Linked DNA regions of Homo sapiens: region 1 is linked to region 2. The links are contacts of gene promoters, found by promoter capture Hi-C in human tissues and cell types (Jung and others, 2019). All regions are on one chromosome and are shown on one strand. Each heading gives the region's core, a stretch centred on a gene start or on the middle of the fragment in contact. The rest is flanking DNA. Distances are from core to core; before and after follow the strand shown. Region 1 holds the start of ZNF195 (zinc finger protein 195). Region 2 holds the start of CDKN1C (cyclin dependent kinase inhibitor 1C).

Region 1 (7,837 bases), core at 3,967-6,466, 490 kb after region 2:
AAGAAGGCCCTGTGACCTCCCTTTGGAACCAAGGCTGAGCTCAACTCGTACAAATGCATCTGAAACCCCCCATCACTGATTCTGGCCACACCTTAGAATCCCATGATGCATGTGACTTAAACAGCACTGGTGCTTCCACCCAAACCAATAGGCAGAATCTGTGAGGGCAAAGGTGAGGGCCTTTTTTTGAGTTGTCCATGTGATTTAATTAGAAGCCAGGCTGAGAACCATTTAGCTAAGCCTTGCTTCTCAAGCTTCAATGTGCATATGAATCTTTTGGTAATTTTGGCCCCACTCTAAGTCATGTGATTCTGAAGATTTCAAAGGGGTTCATGGGTTGGATTTTTTAACAGTTCTGCCATTAATGGTGATGCTGCTCCCCCAAGACTTGTGATCATTAACACTCAGCTAAAGAAAGCAGCCCCAGCACAGTCCCTTACACCCAACCCTCTGACCACAACATAAGTTCTTCTGGTGCAAATGGAGACAGCCAATCTCTATTCTGAAAGATTACATTATTTCCTGGCTCTTTAAAGTTTTCCAGGGCTGGAGAAGGAAGCAATGTCTGAGTCTGTCTGCATTTGGAAAACAATGTGTACACACGTATGAATGCAGTGTTTATTAAGCAGGCACGGGGTGCTCGGATGTATGTGACAGCACTGTGCTGGGCACCTCACGTCATGTGAGTTAATCCTCACCACACCCTGGGTGATGGAACCAAGTGTCCTGCAACTCTCAAGATATAGATGAAGGGACCAGGCTTTGTGGTTCCTCTTCTATTTTCCTATCATTAACGTTTTAAAAGTGTAGTGATAAAAGCTCCAGATAGACCAATGGAAGGGATACAGAGGGGATGAAGTGTAGTGCAAAGGCACTTTCCATTGTTGTGTTTATCTTCACTTTCTTGTGGCTTGTGAAGCAACTATTAGACCCACAGGACTGAGAAAGAGCTTGCTGGATACGATGTCTCTAACAGCGCTGGTGTTAGTAAAAAAGAAAAATTAAGGCTCCAAAATAGAGAGTCCTTTGATCCCATTTATCTGCTTTGGGGTTTCCGAAAATTCTGTGTATCAGTTCCGGAGAGGCAGCAGGAGTCAAACTCTGATTTAACTCTGTAGTTAAACTCCAAACTGATTTAACTCTGTAGCTAAACCCAAAACTCTGATTTAATTCTGTAGTTAACTCTGTCGGAGGAGAGTCCAGGGTGAAGCCAGACCTGGATGAGACTCAGAGAAGGAGAGTCTGGGCATGTCTGGGCAGGGAGAGGGCCCTACGCAGGATTCTGCTCTCTATGCTACTAGAGTATTTACAATTCTGTTTTTCCTAAAACTGCCCCCCACCCCAAAATTTAAATCCCAGGGTTTGTATAATTTTAATCTATTTTGGCCACTTCCTTGTCTATTTTATAACATAAAATAACAAGCAATTTAACCGAAACCTTTAGGATTTTCTAGGACAGATATGGTAGAAGCTAAATATTTATTTTTAGCCGGGCAAAAGCAACAGAAATAATACCACCACCACCTTGTCTGTCTGAATATCCCTTCAATATGACATCAGAACTCACAACAACCACATCAGGAAAATGGCCCAAATGAAGCAGAAGTCCCTTTGACCACTCCCTTCTTCATGCTGACCCCAAGACGCTGAATTCAATGATTTATCCAGTTACTGGAAATGGAAAAGTTTCTGGCTTGCGGGGACCATGGCTGCCTTCTCTGTTTTCCTAATGGCTACACAGGATGGAATCAATTAGTTTATCAGTTTGAATCTCCAGATCTCATTTTTGTTTTTTACTGAAGTACCAGAAAAACTGGAGTAATTCCCATGTGGATACCAATGAGGTTTCTTCTCTGAGGGGAGGAACAAACCCTGGGTGACTCATTTCTCTTATTCTACAACAGAAGCACAGATAGACCGTTTTGTCAGCCTGAGCCCCGTCTGCACAGTGCACTCCTGAATGTCCAAAAGACTCCAGGTGCTGGTGAGAGAGTTCCTGGTGACCCTGCACAGATGCCCTCTATGGCCATGAGATCCATGATAGTTGCTACCTTCTCCCTGTTGCAATCCTCCTTTAGAGTTCAATAACTTCCTATCTAAAGCTAAATTTATTTTATTTGACGAAGTCTAGAAACAGCCCCAGGATAATAACGATTCCATACCCAGGAAGTCCTCCCCAGCTTCCTTCCATCCCAACTCTAACTGCATCTGCCTGTGGGTCCCCAGTGCTCCCGGGCTCTGCAGCTTCTCTCTGTAGAAAGGCTCCTTCCATGGTTGCTGTGAGCAGTCTGGCGCACCCGCAGGGGAGGCTCCTTGGGAAGCACTAGCTAGGCCAGGGGTGTCCGATCTTGGCTTCCCTGGGCCACACATAAAATACACTAACACTAACGATAGCTGATAACTGAAAAAAAAAAAAAATCACAAAAAAGTCTCATAATGTTTTAATAAAGTTTACGAATTTGTGTTGGACCACATTCAAAGCCCAGGCCAGCATGTGGCCCAGGCCTGTGGGTTGGACAAGCTTGAGCCAGGCCTTCGATTGCTTTCTTTTGCAGACTCAGTATTAGCCTTAGCTTGGAATGACTGTTCTTGGGCTTCAACTTCCCAATCAGGGTTATCCACTTAGGTTTAAATAAGAAAATACCCAGTGTTGGAAACATCCAACAAAATCACTGAAACAGTTTACAGAAGAAAAGGAAACTGTAAGCACTTACACTTTCACCTCCACAGAAAAAGCAAAATTATTTATTGCTTTCAGACAATGAACTTGTCATTTAACTATTTCCATAACAAATCATATAGTAAACAATCACATGTGAACACTTTTAGAAGTGCTAAGTTCCATCTCCTACAACTTAGCATTAAGCTCAGACATCTAGAGAACAGGATATAAAACAGAGATACTCATGACAACAAATTCATCCTGCAAAAAGAGCTCATGTTCTGATGAATCTATGCAATTTACCAAGTAATCTACCATAATTTTTTTGTAGAAAATGTAAACATTCTCCACAGCCATCCAAGAAGCATTTTATGTTCCCTGGTAGCATTCCCAAAGCTAAGCCCTGGGATTCTGTTGGAAATCATCTTCCACAAAAGAACAGACCTAAGTAACTTTCTACCCTTAATCACTCTGGAGAAGAAAAAGGTATGTATGACTAGATATTTAACTTTTTTCCTGAAATTGACCTATTTCATGTCCTTTGTAAGTATTTTCTTACCTTTCAAGCTCTACTGATAAAATGTAAATTTACAATTAAAAATCCAACATTGCAGTAAGTGAATAAATTATTTCAAGGAGACACAGAGAGTGGCAGTGCCGACTGGAACACAGACACAGCTAATGACTTGTGTCAAGTCAGGCTATTCTATTCCTTGGGAGATTCTCCCACCTCCATCCTGTTCACCGAAGTGCTCACCGGCCACCCCCGATGATACACTGCACTGTGCCCCGCTGAGTGTCCCAGGTGAATTTTGCTTTACAGGTTTTGCACCATCTCACGGGGTGGAGTTTTTCTTGCTCTTTGAAACATTCTGTCTCCCTTCACAAATCTGAGAGTCCAAAGGGCAGAAATGATTTCGGTCTTTTCCCTCTGACAGGGGCATGTGATTGGCTGATCAGCCATGTGTCTCCAGGGATTGAAAGTTGGGTTGGGTGAAGACAATCTTAATGTCCTAAGTGGTTACCTCTTTAGAGGAAGAGTAGACCAGGAGATTTCTCTCAGCCCAGGGCATCCAGCTGCTCCCTGGAGAGGCCACACTTCATACCTCAGGCTGTCCTCTGAGAAATAACCCAGGGCCTGAAATTCACTAGATGCTCCAGCAGACATGGCCATGGTGGGCATCCTGTGTTATCCCTGGACAATACTGAAACTGAGGAAAAAGTCCAGAGGGTGGCTGAGAGCAAATCACCCTGTCAAGTTTCCAAAGTGGAACCTCAAACCAAAGACATTCTGGTAAGGTGTCTGTGCCTAGGGAAAATAAAAAGGAGGAGAGGCACAAAGACTTTTTACAATAGCGTCAGGGGATGATTCTCTGCTTTCCTGTCACGTGGAATGATTACAAACAGAAAACAAATCTCTTAAAAAGTGCCGTCCAGGCTGGGCGCAGTGGCTCACGACTGTAATCCCAGCACTTTGGGAGGCCAAGGCAGGCGGATCACATGAGGTCAGGAGTTCAAGACCAGCCTGGCCAACATGGTGAAACCCCGTCTCTACTAAAAATACAAAAATTAGCCGGGCGTGGTGGTGCAGGACTGTAATCTCAGCTACTCGGGAGGCTGAGGCAGGAGAATTGATTGAACCCGGGAGGCAGAGGTTGCAGTGAGCCGAGATCGCGCCACTGCACTCCAGCCTGGGGGACAGAGCGAGACTCCATCTCAAAAATAATAATAATTAAATAGCAGGCAATCCGACTGAGGTGGCTCTAGTGCCCTGGGTTCTTAGGTTAAAAAAAAAAATCTAACTCAGATGCGTTTCTTGCAAATGACTATCTTGCAGAAACAAAATTCAGGCTTCGTCAACCACAAACCTCTAATTAACTTCTGATTACAGGACCAGAAAATTTCAGCCTAGATAGCTGAAATCAGGAGATGACGTAACTGTACCGAACTAATGAATGAATGTGGTTTGCTTCCTCATGCACCTGATAAAAGCCTTTCCTTCAAGGCCGGCTGGTGGGACCTCCAAACCCAAAAAACATGGTTGGGTCCTCTGCCATTCATGAATCGCTCTTTGCTCAAATAAAACTCTTTCACATTTTTGCAAGGACTCCCTCGAGAGAAAGGAGGGACTGGGGCCCCCACGGGCTACAGATCATCCTCTTATGCACAAACCACCCACGGAGTCGGGATTCTCCCTTCCTGACTCGGGGAGACGAGGGTCTGCGGGCGAAGAGCTGCCGGGGGGACATGGCTCTGGGCTTGGGCCAAAGCCGCTCTGCAGGGATGCGCCGGGGCGCGCGGGGCCCGGCCGCCATGGTGCAGCTGGAGGGGCCTCGGGTCCGCGGAGCCCGGAACCCACCCGGGCAGCCCGGTTCCTCCCGAGCCGGTACCGCGGGTTCCAGTCCGCCCCTCCCTGTCTCTCAGGAGGCCTGGCCCCTACACTCACCATCTCCTGGCCTCCAGAGAGCCTGGCGTTTCACTTCTGGATCTCCCGGTGCCTGCGGGTCACACGACCTACGGCTAGCAGGGGACACAGAGCCGCGGGGACAGGAAGTGGAGCTCTGTCGGGACAAAGGCCCCGCTAGATCCCGGAAGCCGTCCTCTCCTCTCCAGACATGTGCCTGATTGGACAGTCCCCGCCCCTACTCCTCTGATTGGATAGGGCATCACGCCCCGCCCCCTCAGGCCCTGAGTGACAGGAGCTGTAATCAGACAATGGGCCGAATGAGACAGCAAGGACAGGTGCTGGCCGCGATCTTTTGGAGCGGGGCTTCCTGCCTGCGCTGTCCGGCCCCACCTAGAGGATATTTACATTTCATCTTGTGACTGCGGTTATGTTTATTTATAAATAATAAATATATGTTATTCACCAATGGAAAGAAGAAAATAAAGACAATCATTTTGAATTTTTATATTTTATGGCCTTCCTGGCTTTTGGTCCTTTGAACAGACAGCCTGAAATTTCAAAAAGGATTCAAGCCTCTAAGAATTAAAATGTAAGCCATGTGTGAATCTTAAATTTTCTAGTAGCCACGTTTTAAAATGTACTAAGAAACAGGTGAAGTTGATTGTAATAATTTAACCCAGTATGTAACCATTTTCCTCTATGGTCAATATACAATTGGTAAGGAAGTATATATTTTGGGGTACTAAATCTTTGAAGCTCACTCTGTATTTTACCTTTTCAGCACATTTCAGTTCAGACCAGCTGTATTCCTGTTATTCAATAGCCACACATGATCAATAGCTGCCACACTAAAGTGCAGCTCTGAGGTCTAACCTCCCTTATGTCAGGAAGTGGAGGGTCTGAAAGTCCCTTTTCAGCCAGAGGTGAGGGAACAGCCTCTTGCTACAAACATCTCTCCTCCGGTCGAAGGGTGGACGAGATGGTGATCCTAGAGAGCATAGGGGAAAGCAAAAGAAAATATCCACGGGTAGAGGACTGCTGCCCATCAATAATGGGGCCCTAAGAGGAGAGAACACATCTTCAGATCTGTCCATAGCCTTGACCTCCAACATTTAGATATGGAGGAAATAGACTAGAGGCAGACTTATCTTGCTATTTGGCCTTAGCCCTAATGATCAAGCTGTGATTGTCTGTTTCTTCCCGTGGTTGGGGGGCTGTGTGAGTAAAAGCACCAATCACATATATACATGTGTACATGCATTTCTGTATGACGGAACATTATCTTACAAAAGATCCAACTTTAAATAAGGGGGGAGAATTAGTACCTATAAAGTGCTTTCTTCTTGCAGGTAACTAGGAATCAACCTTTCATTGAATCCTGGCACCCTATCTGCCCTGGGTGCATGTATTAGTTAGCTATTGCATAACAAATCACCGAAAACTTAATAGCTCATGATTGAGTTCATCAGCCATTCACGCTGAACTCAACTGAGCTATTCTTGTCACAACTGGACTGCTTCATGTATGTATGGCCAGCTGCTGGTTGACTAGGTGGCTCTGCTTCTGGGGATGAGATGGCTATCAACAGTGGCACCTTCCTTCTCCCCACCATGGTATGTCATCCTCCAGCTGGCTAATCTCATAAAGATAGCAAGGTTCTGATAGCTTGATCTCATAAAGATAGCAAGGTTCTGAGAAACACAGAAGCATTTAAGACCTTTTGAGCCTAGGCCCAAAACTAGCACAAAAGCTGTCATATTCGCAGTTGATACGGTCTGGCTGTGTCCCCAGCCAAATCTCAACTTGAATTGTATCTCCCAGAATTCCCGTGTGTTGTGGGAGGGACCGGGGAAGGGGGTAATTGAGTCATGTGGGCGGGTCTTTCTCATGCTATTCTCATGTTAGTGAATAAGTCTCACGAGATCTGATGGGTTTATCAGGGGTTTCCACTTTTGCTTTCTCCTCATTTTTCTCTTGCCGCCACCACGAAAGAAGTGCCTTTTGCCTCCCGTCATGATTCTGAGGCCTCCCCAGCCATGTGGAACTGTAAGTCCAATTAAACCTCTTTTTGTTCGCATGTTCAGGAATGTCTTTATCAGCAGTGTGAAAACAAACTAATACAACAGTTTTCTATAGCCAGAGAAAATAGTGCCAGCCAGATGCAAAGTTTGGGAAACACATTCGGCCTCTTGATGGGAGGAGCTGTAAGAGCACACAATAAAGAGCATAGATACAGAGAGTAATGAAGCATTGCTGCTGTTTCTGCAATCAGTATTATTCTACCCTTTCTTGCAGAAGAGGTTTATATTACTGCTCCAAGTCAAGAACCTTGCCCAAAGTCCCACAGCTGCTAAGCAGCTGGGCTGGTACTCAGGATCAGCTCTGCCTGGCTCTGCAGCCCTTACTCCTGCATAGACTGCACTGCTCATACAGCTTTCCAAGGCCTGCAAGTTTCTGGAGAGTAACTCTTCTGCAATAGAGGCAGAATTCCTTTTAGATTTGGACCCATATGGTGCTGTTTACCATTGGGAATAATCAATCACCTCGAGAAATTGCAGAAGCTTCTTGGAAGGACATGGAATAATTTGAGGGAAATGGCTGATAGATGACTTTAGGAAATCAGAGCCCAACAACAGAGGAGCAATTTTAAAACAGAATGTATCCTATATGTCTGTAAATGCTTTCATTCCTTTTTGGTATTTGTAGGCTGTTCATAATTTTCAACACTGACTATAAGTACTGTGACTGAAACAACCTCTTACTCTGAA
Region 2 (6,715 bases), core at 171-2,670:
CTTAACCCCCTCCACGCCGTGCTCACGGCGCCCGGCCGCGCCCGGGGAGGGGCTCCCGCGGCCGGGGGCGAAAACTGCGCTCCCGGGGGGTCGCGGCCGGGATTCAGCCTCCCACCCCGCCCGCGCGAAGCCGCTGGAGGGCACAACAACGGGGCGGGGAGGGGGGTAAGGGCGCAGCCGCGCCCTGAGCGCTGCGGGCCCTTTAATGCCACGGGAGGAGGCGGGAACCCAGCGAGGCCCCCGAGGGCTGGGGGGACCGGCCGGCCGGACAAAGCGGGGCCGGGCCGGGCCGGGGCGGGGCCGTGCGGGGCTCACCGGAGATCAGAGGCCCGGACAGCTTCTTGATCGCCGCGCCGTTGGCGCTGGCGGCCGCGGTGCCGGCCGCGGGACGTCCCGAAATCCCCGAGTGCAGCTGGTCAGCGAGAGGCTCCTGGCCGCGCTGCCCCTGGTTCGCGCCCTGCTCGGCGCTCTCTTGAGGCGCCGCGTCCGGGGCCGGGGCCGGGGCGGGGGCCGGGGCCGGGGCCGGGGCCGGGGCTGGGGCCGGGGCCGCGACTGGAGCCGGGGCCGGAGCCGGAGCCGGAGCCGGGGCCGGGGCCGGGGCCAGGACCGCGACCGCGACCGGAGCCGCGACCGGAGCCGCGACCGGAGCCGGAGCCGGGGCCGGGGCTGGAGCCAGGACCGGGACTGGGGGCGGGGTGGACGCCGGGGCCGGGACCGGGACACTAGGCAGCTGCTCCGGCGCCTCCTCGAGGCCGTCGAGGGACTCAGCGGCCGGCTCGAGGGGCGGGCTGACAGCCACCGCGACCGCGACGGGCCGCGGCGCCAGCAGCAGGCGGCAGCGCCCCACCTGCACCGTCTCGCGGTAGAACGCGGGCACCGAGTCGCTGTCCACTTCGGTCCACTGCAGGCGTCCAGGGCCCCGCAGCGGCATGTCCTGCTGGAAGTCGTAATCCCAGCGGTTCTGGTCCTCGGCGTTCAGCTCGGCCAGGCGGGCCTGCAGCTCGCGGCTCAGCTCCTCGTGGTCCACCGGCCCGAAGAGGCTGCGGCAGGCGCTGGTGCGCACTAGTACTGGGAAGGTCCCACGGGCGACAAGACGCTCCATCGTGGATGTGCTGCGGAGGGACGCGTCGGACATGGCCCGGGGCTGCGCAAACGCGGGCAGCGAGAGAGGAGAGGACAGCGAGAAGAAGGGGAAAGGAGAGGAGGAGAGGGCGGAGGCCGGGCGCAAGGGAGACCCCGCGCCGCCCGACTCTGCGTGTGCGAGGGACGCGGCGGCTACCTGGCTGTCCGGTGGTGGACTCTTCTGCGTCGGGTTCGCCTGTCTCGTCCGGACGGCAGCCGCGCCCCCTCGATGCCTGCTGGCTAGCTCGCTCGCTCAGGCCTGGCCGGCACCCCTCGAGCACAGCGCACTTGGCCTGTGGAACGCCCAGCCCGCCTGCGCCCCCTTTATACGCGCGGGCCCCACCCCCGTGCGCGCGGGCCCGGCCGCGATTAGCATAATGTAGTATTTTCAGTTTCAACAACACCACGGCGATTGGCGGCCGCCCCGCTGCCCCGCCCCGCCGCGGCCCGGCCCCCGCGCACCGCCCATTGGCCGCGCGCACACCCACCGGGGGCGGGGCGGGGCGCGCGGCCGGGGCGCGCGGCTGATTGGCGGCCGCGGGGCGAGCGCGCTGTAGCAGGGGAAGGGGGCGGTGAGCGGGGCGGGGGCGGGAGTTAAAGGGCGCTGCGGGCGGTAACGTGACACCGCGACGCCCGCCCCCTCGCCCCATCCCCCCTGCAACACTCCCCCACCCCCCCGGCTCCCGCCCCCCGCCGGCTCCTTTGTCTGCAGGCGGGGGCCTCAGCCCAGCGCGGCAGGGGCCGGCTCCTGGCGGGTCCGGTGTCCGGCCAGGCCCAACTCGACCCCGGCCCGGTCCGGACCCCGGCGCCCAGCTCCGTCCCGCGCTCGCCCGTGGGCCTCCTGCGCCAGCTGACGAGGCTTGGACCCGCCGCTGCCAGCTCGGCCCTGGCCTGCGCCGGATGGGGTCTTCGGCTGCCCCCGCGCGGCCTGCTGCTGCTGGGCTGGTGTCCCTTCGAGGGCTCCGCGCGCCTGGAGCCCTCACACACCTGCTGGCCCTAAGGCCCTCGAGTCGGGAGGGGGGACAGGGGTCAGCTCCACTCTTTCCCCGAGGGACCATGTGTGGGACACCTTGAGAGACTCCCACCAGCCCCCTGGAGCTGGAGTCTGAAGCCGCTATCTGCGGAGGCCCACCCTGCCCAGTAGATGGAACAGGGGCTGAGCCCATCATGTCACTGTCGGGGGTCCCAGCCCTTCTCAGCCTTGGGCCAGACCACTCCAGCCCCGGGATCTGCCTGTCCAGGCTGGCTGGAAGCTGTTGTACTGGGTAAAAGTGAAAGATCTGCCCGAGGTCATAGGGGAAGGGGCTGTGAAGGACCATGCCCCTCCCCCGCCTGCAGCCCTTCCTGGTACAGACCTCGGTCGTGCGCGCACGCACACACACACACACACACACACGCACGCACACACACGGTGCTTCACCCCAGCCAGGCCAGACCAAAAGAGACCATTATTTCCTGCTGCCTCCCTTTTGGCCCACCTACCATGAGGCAGGGAGCCCCCTCCTCAAACCAGGAGCCTCCCAGATCGGGATGGGGACTGTCAGACACCTGTTGGAGGGTCCAGCAGCCCATGAGATCTAAGCCCCTATCTCAGGTGAGCCTGTGAGCCAGCAGAGAGACCTCTGGGAGGGAGGGAAGGTGCGGTCCCCTGAACCCCAACCAGCCTGCCTTTGAGTCCCAAGACACCCCCACCCCCATGGAATGCTGTGGCAGTGTGCAGCTGCAGCTGGGGGAGCAGGGCGGGTCTTCTGGGTCTCAGGGAAGCGAGATCTGAAGTGAGGGGGGTGAACTGGATGGGACAGGGCGTTAACCCAGGAGAGGGGCCAGGGCCATTCTTGGCTCTTGATGGTGGAACCAAAAGCCATGATTTATGTGCAATTTCATATTCTTCTCTGTGCACAATTTACAAATTTCCCGCAACAAGCCCAGATGTCACAATTTTCATCTTAGGAAAACAAAGAGAAGCTGAAGAAGGCTCCCCAGGCCCTGCGAACCCCTCAAGCAGGGCTCATATCAACTGGCCTGGGGGCAGAAAGAGGCAAAGTCTAGTCTGCTCCATGCCCCTATGCTGCCACCTCCCCAGAGACTAGGAGCAAAGGGCTAGAGTGGGTAGTGACCTAGAGGCCCCCGGATACCCACACTCCAACCATCAGGACTCATTGGCCTTGGTGACACCACTCAGAGGGTGTAGCTGCCATCATCCTGTGTTATAGAAGAGCAGCAGAGACCGCGTCAGCCGCTGAGGCCGCACAGCTGGAAGGAAGCAGGGCTCAGAACTCCCGGGCTGCCTGGCTTTCTGGTTTGGTTTCCACTTAGGTTTCCTACTTTTATTTTTCCACTTTACCAGCTTAATTACAGAGTCAAACCCAGTGCTGTGGGGATTCCTCCGTCTTGGCCTCGTTAGAAGCTGAGAGGTGACCTGCTCTAAGTCTGTCACTCTGAATTCGATCAAAGATGGTACCCAATAGCATTTTAAACCTGCACGTCCCAGGAGCGGGGCTGTGTCCCCCCAGCCCAAGCCAGGGACACACCTGGAGGAAGGCACCCCAGGAGCTGGGGGCTGGGAGTTCCAGGCTCTGAGAGGAGGCCCAATGGGCCCAGAAGCAAGCAAACATCTGTCTAGGTGCAACAATCAAGCTCTATTTTTGTAATTAAAAATGTATCCAAAGGGAAAAAAGAAACAAAAGGAACAATATTTGTACTCTATGTTGCTGCAGAGAGCAGAACTGCGGAGGGGGTGCTAGTCCCAAGGGGTGGACTGTGCTGTGCTAGTGCCCTAAATCCTGCAAGCGCGGGGTTGGGGGGGCGGGGGAGACCGCTGTCGGGGGTCGTGAGTTCCGGGCCCTTGTGTGCATGTTCACGTCCTGTCATTCTTGCCCCCAGCTGAGAGAGCAGTAGAGGAAAGGCACTACATCCACCAGCCTTTGCATTCTCCTCGGAGCACACAGAAAGACATTTTCCAGTTATCTTGCACACAAGTGGGCGGCGGGACCCGTTTTGGCCGGGAACGTTGTCAGGAACGCTGTACACCACTTCCAGGCGGTCACGTCCGAGCTGCCCAGGCAGTCCTTCTGCGCCCTCTGCTGGCCAGATGGAGGCTGCAGACCCTGCGGGGCCATCAGGAGAGAACCACCAAGCACCCTCTGCACACCGCATTGCCTGTGTTGGGCACAAAGAATAAACTTTTATTGCATCTTAACCCACTAGAAATGTAGGCTTGTCCATCACAGTGGGGCGTTACATACCCTAATACATAGGGAAGGCATAGGTAGATTTCAGTTGGCCTTTTACAGACAAGGAAACCAAGGCTTGAGAAGATTCAAACCTTACTGCAGCCATGGCTCACACCTATATACCCTCAGTACTTTGGGAGACCAAGGCAGGTGGCTCGCTTGAGCCCAGGAGTTCCAGACAAGCCTGGGCAACATAGAGAAACCCCATCTCTACGAATATTTTTTAAATTAGCTGGGTGTGGTGGCACGTGTCTGTGGTCCCAGCTACTCGGGAGGCTGAGGTGGGAGGATTGCTTGAGCCCAGGAGGTTGAGGCTATAGTGAGCCGTGATCGTGCCACTACCTCTAGCCTGGACGACAGAGCAAGACGCCCTCTAAAAAAAAAAAAGAAGAAGAAGAAGAAGAAAGAAGAAGAAGAAAAAGAAAAACTTGCTGCCCAAGCAGTTAAGGCAGGATTAACCTGCAGCCCTCACTGCTGTGCGTTCCTTCTAGGAAAGACCCAGAAGCCAGAGAAGCCTAGGTCCCAATCCTGGTGGATCTTCGTGCTGGAATCGTTAAGCCAGCTGTTTCCCAGGGGCCACCCATGGGCCAGTCCTCACCACAACCTCATGGGTGGTCGGTCAATGTCGTAGGCCCGCTTTACAGCCGAGGAGACAGAGGCTTCCAGAGGCAAACACACTGGTCCATGAGTAGCAGAACGAGGGTAGGCCCAGGAAGCCATGTCCTTGGCCACATGTGCTTTCTGGCGGGTGACCTCCACTCCAGTGCCTCCCCGGCTGCCCGAGGCCTCCCCTTCCCGGGTGTGGCAGCTGTACAGCTGCCTTGTCGGCATGTTCATGGCCCCATCAGGAATGTGTGCCGCAGGTGGCTTCACAGGGCTAGGAATGCCCGTCCTAGGTTAGGCCCAATCCCTACCCAGAGCCCCAGGGAACCCAAATTCTGGGACACAGGACACCCGGCCAGTGGGCCAATGGCCCCTATCAGGGAGTGACCAAGGACAGGCCGGGAGCTCTTCTTTCCCCTCTGACCCATGGTGAAACCTGCCTCGGGCCTGTTCCCTGGGTTCTGAGGCCCTGAGCTATCTGTCTTCAAACAAACGAAGGCCTCAAAGAATGTTCCATTGAGCCATGGGCCCCATATCACCCATCAATCACAAAGGGCTGGGGATTGCAGGCACAGGGTCAAGGTGGGTAGGAGGTGAGGGCTGGACACCATCTGAATCTGTGCTGTTCCAGGGCCCACTAGAGAGTCTCCAGGTACCCGGAGCCTGCCCTCAGCAGTACCACCCTCCCACAGCACCCCAGGGACCCTGCAAGAGGTGTCTGTGCCCTTCCCGGCTGCCTCCCCAGCTGCTCCCCAGGTGGTGCCCTGTGGAGAGGACCAGAGGGATATTATAAACAATGACAACACTTGCTGCCTTCATCTTGTGCCTGCTCAGGGCCCTGCCCTAACCCAGGGCTGGGCTCGTTGCCTCATTTAATCCTTCCAAGACCCCTGAGAGGGAGGTGTGTTCGTGCCCATTTTGCAAGGGAGGGGACTCAGGCTCCCAGAGGTTAAGCCACCTGCCTGAGGTCACTGAGACTTGAGGTTGGCCCTGCCTTTCACCCAGCCTGAGCCCCTCCATAGGACTTCTGTGAGGGCACAAGAAAGCAGGAAAAGAAAGAAGTCAAGGGCCCTGGGAATCTCCCCTGACATCTCCCACCCCAAGCCCTAGAGCCAGGGCTGGGCATCTGTGCAGGGTACAACCCTGCCCAGGGATGCCTGACTCTGGAAAGGCCACCCCTTTGGCCTCAAACCACATCACCCAGCAGCAGGTCCTCAGACCAGCCCTGGACAGGAGCTTGACTGGCTGTGCCCCCAAAGGCCCCAGAGCTCCCTGCCCCCACTGAGCCTCCACCTTCCCATCCATAAGATGGGGTGGGGAGTCATCCAGCCCAGAGGCCCCAGGGGCATGGGGAGTGACAGATTAACCCAAGGCCCCCCCTCCCGCAACAGGCGGCTCAGCACACACTTGGCGGGGGGCCATGCTGGGCCAGGAGAGCTCCCCCGCACCAGTTCCCCGCGCGCAAGGCTCGCCCCGCCCCCCAGGACAGGCTGTTCTTGGGGCGGCTGCCAGGCACGTCCTCCGCAGGTGCCGGCCTCCCTGCGGTGACGTGGCCACATGCGGCACAAGCTCCGATTACAGGGACTGCCTTGTGCTGGGGGTTCCGGCCAGGGGTCCTCACTCCCCAGGAACCGATGGGCGGAGCTGGGCAGGCCCTGAGGAGAGGCCCAGTGGGAATAGGGAACAGTCACCCCTGCTCCAGAACGGGACCAGGGGCTGCTTCCCTTGGGGTCTGGAAGAGAGGGACCCCCTGGTCC

Evidence for each region. The method cuts DNA at HindIII sites, captures the fragments that hold promoters and counts their contacts. A contact is called where the count stands out against the background at its distance.
Region 1: the fragment with the promoter of ZNF195 here is called in contact with the fragment with the promoter of CDKN1C in region 2 in 1 of the 25 tissues and cell types used here (IMR-90 fibroblasts).

Annotation. Positions count from the first base shown.
Region 1 is chr11:3,373,930-3,381,766 of GRCh38, forward strand. It overlaps ZNF195 (zinc finger protein 195), which reads right to left and starts at 5,217. Exons shown (of 6, transcript NM_001130520.3): 1 at 5,109-5,217. The coding sequence starts at 5,111. It also overlaps the pseudogene TSSC2. RefSeq lists enhancers at 4,918-5,481, 5,170-5,464 and a silencer at 4,923-4,992. The HindIII fragment of the contact is 6,782 bases long and covers 1,388-7,837 here.
Region 2 is chr11:2,884,355-2,891,069 of GRCh38, forward strand. It overlaps CDKN1C (cyclin dependent kinase inhibitor 1C), which reads right to left and starts at 1,421. Exons shown (of 4, transcript NM_001122630.2): 1 at 1,280-1,421; 2 at 316-1,112. The coding sequence starts at 1,102. SLC67A1-AS (SLC67A1 antisense RNA) reads right to left here. Exons shown (of 3, transcript NR_169305.1): 3 at 2,990-4,281. RefSeq lists enhancers at 411-1,246, 1,247-2,082, 2,083-2,918. The HindIII fragment of the contact is 9,348 bases long and covers 1-4,121 here.